2 separate regions of the Homo sapiens genome follow, and region 2 is linked to region 1. Evidence: promoter capture Hi-C in 16 types of primary human blood cells and fetal thymus (Javierre and others, 2016). All regions are on one chromosome and are shown on one strand. Each heading gives the region's core, a stretch centred on a gene start or on the middle of the fragment in contact. The rest is flanking DNA. Distances are from core to core; before and after follow the strand shown.

What was found. Contacts are between HindIII fragments. The CHiCAGO score rates a contact against its expected background, and 5 or more counts as called.
Region 2: a fragment that was not itself captured here is called in contact with the fragment with the promoter of EMC2 in region 1 in 1 of 17 cell types (naive CD8 T cells); the score reaches 5.0 in naive CD8 T cells.

The regions. Positions count from the first base shown.
Region 1 is chr8:108,441,646-108,445,604 of GRCh38, forward strand. It overlaps EMC2 (ER membrane protein complex subunit 2), which reads left to right and starts at 1,979. Exons shown (of 11, transcript NM_014673.5): 1 at 1,979-2,053. The coding sequence starts at 2,014. It overlaps LOC105375704 (a long non-coding RNA gene), which reads right to left and starts at 1,827. Exons shown (of 3, transcript XR_928530.4): 1 at 1,725-1,827. RefSeq lists a silencer at 1,813-1,932. The HindIII fragment of the contact is 5,303 bases long and covers 1-2,406 here.
Region 2 is chr8:116,862,758-116,866,926 of GRCh38, forward strand. RAD21 (RAD21 cohesin complex component) reads right to left here. Exons shown (of 14, transcript NM_006265.3): 2 at 3,829-4,004; 3 at 373-502. The coding sequence starts at 3,972. Among named protein-coding and RNA genes, the nearest start is that of RAD21-AS1, 9.6 kb to the right of the region's middle. The HindIII fragment of the contact is 206 bases long and covers 1,994-2,199 here.

The sequences.
Region 1 (3,959 bases), core at 729-3,228:
GAATGCGGAAGGTGACAGCAGGAATCCGCAGTTCTGTGTGGGATATGTTAACTTTGAGATGCGTATCAGCTAGCTATCTGAGTACGTCAAGCAACCAGACTGGGTTTTGGGAAGGTTTATCAGTTTGGGACTGATCAGCATATAAACAGTATTTCTAGACATAGGATGGTACCTCCATGAGAGTGCCACGCAGGGGCTTTAGCTGCAGCATCTGTTTTTATCTTGATTAACAACACAAGGTAGCTATTTTCTTTTTACACACATATTATTAGATTTTTATATATGAGCCTTTTTGATGTTTAGAGAGAAATAAGCTGAAAGTCACCCAGCTACTGAAAGGTAGAGCCTGGATTCAGATCTGGGAGTTCTTGTTCTTCCTATTGCACCAGGTTGCTTTACTGGAGCATTAAAATATGTGAATTTCTGAGTATTTTTTAACTTTTTGAATGAAAGATTTTTAAAAAGTCTGTTTAGAAAGAATGCCAGCTCATTCAGAATTGAATCCAAGTATATACATTCACTAGTCTTCTCTGTTGTTAAGTGACTTCTCTGGGGTCTATGGTTTGATGGTTTTTTTCCTTTTTTTAAACAAACAAACAAAAAAACCTCTGCGGTTGACTGGAGCCGACAGGTGAGGAATGGAGAGATGTTGGTCAAATAGTACAAACTTTTGGTTGTAAGATGAATATGTTCTGGAGATCGAATGTACAGCATGGTGACTACAGTTATAATTCTGTATTGTATACTTTGAAGTTTGCTGAGAGATTTTTAAGTGTTCTCAACACACACACACACACACACACACAGGAAATATGTACGGTGATAGATGTGTTAATTAGCTTGCTTGTGGTAATCATTTCACAGTGTATATTTACATCTAATCATTACTTTGTATACCTTAAATATACACAATTTTTGTCCATTACACCTCAATAAAGCTGAGAAAAAAAACCCTCCACTCTTTTGACTTGTGGGATAGTATTATTTCTACTTCTCAAATCAACTGCCCCTTCTTTACTGACCAATAACTTTCGGCTGCATTGCAGTGATTTTTAGTTTTTTCTCAGCTTACATATTTCCTCTACAATCTCATGTCCCCATTGCTTCAAATACTAAATATACGCTTATCATCCTCAAATTTTTTACTTCCTGTCCAGACATTTCTCCTTAAGTCTAGGAGATGACGTCCAAAGTTTCCTAAAAGCAATTAGTCTGGTGGGAAAGGAGGCTCCCCCATCCACCCAGGAGTAATGAGGAGCGAAGTTCAGGAACTGTGAAGGTCTCATTCGTACATTCATTCCTTATAAGTACTTACATACTCGCGACAGTTTGAAACCTAGTGTGGCATGCAGACATGGATGAAGCAATGACAGGCACGACGAGCGTTAATGAAGGGTATAAGCTAGCGCGAGGGCATTCAAGGGAACTTCAGAGCGCAAAGGAAGAATCCCACTTAGTCTCTCAAAACTTTGGAGTTTATCCGTTTAGTCGATTAAAAAGTGAACGGAAAGCAAATCCCATTACGGAAGGAGGAAAGTTGGGGACAAATAAGGGATTCGTGCAGAAGGCTGCACTGCGGCCGGCCATGAAGAGAATAAGGGTACTTAAGGGAGTGTGAAGAGAATGAACAAGCCTAGGTAGAAAAAACTGAAAAGCCAGGATTGACGGACACTAAAAACCCAGCATTTGTTAAAAATCCACGTCAACACACACACACACCTCACCCCGAGCCAGCACCGTAGCCCCGCCAGCAGCCAGGGTATCCTGAGATTGCGGGAGCGCCACGCACCGCCCACCTAGCTCCGTCCACCGTCCAGCTCGCTCCGCCCAGCTCGCTCCGCCCCCTTCCCCGAAAGCCCCTCCGCAGAGCCGCGTGCACGTGCGTGGCGGATACCGCCCCCTCTGCTCTCTTGGCCAATGAGAAAAAGCTACGTAACTCTCCACCGCCCGGTGGCGGGTCACGTGACTGCGTCTCCCCGCCCTCTCACCCCGCTGCCTCTAGGTTCTGGGAAGATGGCGAAGGTCTCAGAGCTTTACGATGTCACTTGGGAAGGTAACTTCGGGTGGGGGCGGGTGCGGAAAGACTAAAAGCGCTGGGAAGCCGTTCGGGAGTACCCGCTGCTTTCGGGGAGCTGGGTTCTCTGGTGTCTTTTTGGTACCAGAGCCCTCACTGTACGGGCCAAGCTGAGGTGGAGGCTGAGGCTGACCCTTCCCTTGGCCCGGACGCGTACTCTGCAGCGTTTCCCACGGTGTCTGCTCCTCGGTTGACCTGCCCTCCTCCGCGCCAGTCCAGCGTCCCGGGGCCGCTTTTATTTATGAGGCGGGCGGGAGGGACTTGGGGCTGGGGTTGTCGCACGCTAACTGGTTGCTGGGCGGTGCGGAAGAGGCGGAATAGGTGGTTACTGAAGCTTCTTTGGAGCCAAGAAACACAGGGCCTGTAAGGCCCTTTACTAAGTGGTGTGTAAGGATTACAGCTCTGTGCAGAAAAGCTGTGTAAAAGATGCGTGAACAAATGTGATTCTCATATGCCACTCTACATTTAGTTTTCTTCTTAAACCCGGGTTTCCAGTTTCTTTTCCTTTTAGTCTAGTCTCTGTCCCACTCCTTCTCAAAACACATTTACACACACAACACAACTTCTTTCTTACTCCCTACTAGTAGTTTCTTTTCTGAAGGGAAAAATAACTAATTAACTCTGGGCTACGTAAGTGCTTACGTGTGATGGTCACTTTTCCCTATCCTTAGTTGATCTAGAGTGGGATATGTTCTTTAAATCTGGGAACAGCCAAACCTTGGATCAATTCTGTGTGCTTAAGAAACTTGAGTTTCATTAAGGCGTGGAATTTGTGTAATTGGAATTCATATTCCCAGCATTTAACATAATACAGGAGACTTCAGTAGCTAATTTGCTTAACGAATGCCTTCTTGGGATGTTTTAATAATGACCTGAAAACATGTGGACCGAAAGTTGTATTTTCTGTTTTATCGTGAATAAATATATCAGTTATTATAAAGTTGTAAATCCGTTACAAATAAAGCAAAATTTCTTTGTACTTGAACTGAATTAAATGATTTATTGACTTTATGGCCTCTAGCACGTTGTGAATCTCAGTATTTATACCTGAATTGAGGGATTCCATTATATTAAACAACAGTGTTGATTTCTTACTGCAAAATCTTGGCTCTGTCAACACACAGTCCCCACTTCCAAGGAAGTCACAATCTAATGGAGAAAACAAACCTGTAAACACACAGTTTTAAAAGGCTTGTGTCAGGGTATCTTCCGTAAGCTGAGTCGTAGATAAATGGATGTTATTTTTAATGCTTTTTAAAAAATGTTTTAAATATTACATAATTTTTAGAAAATGCTATTATGAAGGTATGTTCATTATAGGTTTCCTAGATGATAGTAGCATATATAAAATCCTGAGGGACGAGTAGCTGTATACTACCAACAGACAAGGTGATTTAACTGAGTAATTGGACCTTACCCTGTGGTCATTCTAAAGAGGATTGATGTAATTAATTTGGAATAATAAATAATAACTACTACACAAATTTGTAGGAACAAAGAAAACATTTTAAAGTGCTTTGTAAACTGTTAAGTACTATATAAAAGGATGTGTTACTATTAGCTAGTGCTAATATGATTATGTCCTTCCTCTGTATGATCTGGCGGTTGCCCATGTCTCCAGCTTTATCTTGAGCCCTTCTCCCTCTCACTTTGTGAGCTGCCTATGCTGGCCTTTGTTGAATACCCTAAATTGCCATGCTGCTTCTTAAAGCTGGCACATGCTAGTCCTTCCACTGGGAGTGTTCTTCCCTCCTTGCCTCACTCTTGCCCCCATTAAACTTTATCATTTATCAATTCCCCACAAAGCTCACCTACTACAAAAAAGCCTTACTTGACCACTCTACTACCCCCTTCCCTTTCCTCATCCCCCACCAAAATTGAAAAA
Region 2 (4,169 bases), core at 847-3,346, 8.4 Mb after region 1:
TTTAAAATCCTAAAATTGTCTTTTCTGAGCTATATTTTAAAAAATCATCACATAACAATTAGTTTCCAACATTTTAACCTCTTGATGACTCAAGTCTATGTAAGCTGCTGAAAAAAGTATTAAAAAGGCAGCTCCAAAGGAAGAACAAATGGGGGTGAGCTCCATTACTTCACAGGGAGAACAGACGCAAGTAGGTTTCCTCCCTTGAAGCACTGCCTCCCCAAGCCTTGCTCTATCTTTGAAGGGTTCCTCGTATTTCAATTAAAACAAAGCATGTAGATTTAGAAAATGTGTTTAGCTACAGTAACACAAAAAACATGAGAAACTCCAAAGTAAACAACAACAACAAAAACCAAACAAGTTTAACAATACCTGGCCGAAAAGCCATCTTTATCTTAATGAATGCTTCATTACAGTCTGCAAGAAGGTATTTGGCTTTCCTGTGATAGATTCGAACTACTCCCAGTAAGAGATGTCCTGATGTCCGTAATGCCATTTTCACCTATGAATAAAACATTAATCATATTCCAAAACCTGCATTTCGTGCCATTCATAGTCTTCTTTTTATCTTTTTCCTTTAAAGTTGCCTTATAATCACATACATTTCTCTGTCCTTACCTATAAATTCCCTGAATATCGAATATCCTGAAAAGACAGAGTGACTGGAAATTCACGAATTAACACAAACATGAAGGAAGCTAGGAAGCAAGCACTAAACCATTCCATGAATTGTGTCATTAGCACATTAAGGAGCACGTAACACTTTTGGTTGCCAATCCAGGGCCATTGTTTCTTGCTAAGTCAATTCTGATTTTGTTTGAGAAGCAAATGTCCCCCACATTGACAGATGTCTCATTCCTCTCTGCTAATACCTGTTCTTCAGTGGGCATGAAACACAGTTCAGCCAATTGAGTAATAGGTGAAGTATGCCAGAGAGTTTCTGAGAAAGATTTCCCCCCCAAAAGAACAACGCCTCTCTTCCTTCCCTCTTTCCTGCTTTGTGAATAGGTAGGGCTTGCTTGGTGCTTCATGCAGTCACCCTGTAAACCACAATGCTAAAGTATGAGGACAGGAAGCTAACACACTAAGGATGGAGAGTTCTTGGATGACATAATCAAGCTGCTGGACCAATCTCAGATCTCCCTGTTTCCAAAATTTTAGTTAATTAAGCCTGTTATTTCCCTTATTGTTTAAGCTACTTTTTAACTAAGTTTCCATTAATTGGAAAGCATACCGATTTAAAAAAAAAAGTTTGGAAAGCATACTAATTGATAAAGAACAATAGTATCCATAGCTTTTTTTCACCAGAAAATATACTCCCAACCTTTTTTCGAGGCAGATCTTGATCAACATTAACATGGGATACAGTATGTGGAAAAGCAGTAGTTGATAAAACAATGAGATAAGACTCCATCTAAACACAAGTATTCAAAATTCCTCTAGCCATAAGGAAAATTTACTGAAAGAACAAGGCAATATGAACTCAAACATCCCCAGATACTTTCCCAAACCACGCCATAAAGCACAACAAGTTCTAAGGTAACAAAAAAAGCTTTTAAACATTTGCTTAATGTTTAAATTATGATTAGTATATTGTTATTTGTAAAAGAAAATGTTGTATTTTAAATTTTATGTGTATTTTCTACAGCACTCTAGGACCCTACTTATGACTCTCAGGTTCTGTATTTATGAGCATTTTATGTGACTTACAGCATAAATGATGATGTATATGGCCATACATTTTTAGACATCCAAAATTATACCAAATTTGTGATCAAATTCAGAATTTATCAGACAATGAATCCCTAATTTTAAAAAAATTCAAAGTAAAATGTTGCTCCTAATGGAAAAACAGAATCTATTTTTATGTGGTGTTATAAAATTTAAAATTAATATTGATTGAACCTTCACCTAAGAACAAAGGAGGGAAAAAAAACCTCTGCTATTATCTTATCTAGAACTAGCAACTTTCAAAAAGTGGTGTTTGGGCAAAAGCTTTCTTTCTGGATTAGTCTGGTTCAGAGTTTAGCCTAGGAGTAGGTAAAATGAGGTATGGCATATGTTTTTGAGCTAGTGTGTGTTAAAGTGTAAACATAAATATAATAAAGATTCCAGGCTACATATTCTGGGAAAGCTCTGCAAATAGGGCCAGTGGTTCTTCCAGTGGGGGAGTGGAAGAGAGAAGAGAAAAAGTATGCAAGCTTGCAGTTGCAAATGAGCCACGTGTGACACTTATGCTAAACAACTAAACTGACATTTTCACAACAAGAACTGCACACCAAAGCAAACATTAGAAATTTCAGGCCCGTTCACTCTGTGGAAATATCTTTACATCCTGTTACCAAATAGATAAAAGCTCAGTTAGAAATGGTTTAAAAAATTTGAAGAGAAATCACTTTCTCTCATAAACACATTACAATCTTTTACATTATTCCTGAACTGTCTGCTTTCCTTTGTGGCTGTTCGTGTATATGTTCAATTATCAGATTGTCTCATACTCGTTTGTAGTGTCCCTAAAGTGGCACAAAGTACTCGGTACATATCATGAAAAAAATCTGTTATCCTTTTAAGCCACTCAATATTTGCTTACGGATGTTAAAGATTAGCCACACATATACTTTCCAGAAAGGAGTACGATTTCTACGTTTTCCATTAACTTATCCCAGTAAGCATACCTATAAAAAAAATTGAAAATACCAATGTTCTCATACAATTTGACCAGCAGTGCAAACTGGTATGATCTCACCAGAACAAACTGTTAGTGCATATCACAAATCTCAAAAACATGTCCATCACTTGGCCTATCAATTATAATCCTAAAAATAAATCTTAAGAAACACTTAAGGGCGTGAACAAACATTTAACAAGAAATGTTTACTAAATGGCTAGTCTTTAAAAAGAAAATAAAACAACCTGTAATCCTACCATCTACAGAAATCTGTAATAATCTTTTGGTATGCCTTCTAGGCTTTCCTGTGTACATGTACACAAGTTTTCTTTGTGTATATACATAAAAACTAACACAATGATTGTTAGAAGGCTGCATCCAGGAAATAGAGCAAAACTTACGAAAAGGCACAGATTTCTTATAAACACCCCCTTCCTCACACACAGATAATCTTCCCCACAATTGACACCTCCCATCGGTGTTTCATTTATTAAAATCGATAAACTTATATTAACACATCATTACCAAAAGTCCGTAGTTTACATCAGGGTTCACACGTGGTGTTATACATTTTATTAGTTTGTACAAATGTAAATGGCATTTAACTATTATACTATCATGCAAAACAGTTTTACTGCTCTAAAAAGAATAGTCTGTGCTCTGCCTACTCAACCCTCCATTCTCTCCCCAACCTACCATCTTTTTACTGTCTCATTTGTATAGTTTTGGCTTTTCCAGAGTGTCCTATAGCTGCAATCATATAATATGTAGCCTTTTTAGATTGGCTTATTATACTAAGTAATACGCATTTACAGCACTTCCACGTCGGTTTTTTTTTTTTTTGAGACAGGGTCTCAAATAAAAGCTCCTCTGAGGAACAGATCAGTAAACAATATTTGGGCATTGCCCTGACTGATGCTTATTTGCCATTAAAAATAGGCAAATCAAAATATATGCACTTAGAGATTTTTTTTAAAATCTAATCTGTAATCATATCAAGTCTATCTAGAGGTGATAAGGACTTCACATAATAAAGAAACATTTCTAAGGATTTTCCTTGCACTCCAATGCCCCTACCTAAAAAAACTGTTTTAGAAGTTCTATTTCACATATCAATAAACAATCAACAAAGTGAATAAAAATGTCAACATCAAACATACCTTTGGTGAGATGATACTCTCCACGCTGCTCTCTAAATTACACTCGAACACATGGGCTTTGGTTAGCTTCTTATCCCAATGGGCCGCTAGCCAAATTTTGGCCAGAGGCCCTCTTTTACTGAGAACAAAATGTGCGTAGAACATTGTTCTGGCTGGCTATGAAAACAGAAGAAAACCTAAGAGGGGAAAAAAAAGTTAATGTAAACATCATCTGACAATTTAAATACTTATCAAGACATAAGAAATTTAAAATTTTTCTTCTCTCTTTAATATGAAAACTATAAAATGCTTGAGTAAATGTTTAATATGTATTTTAAAAACAACAGATTTAAAACAAATCT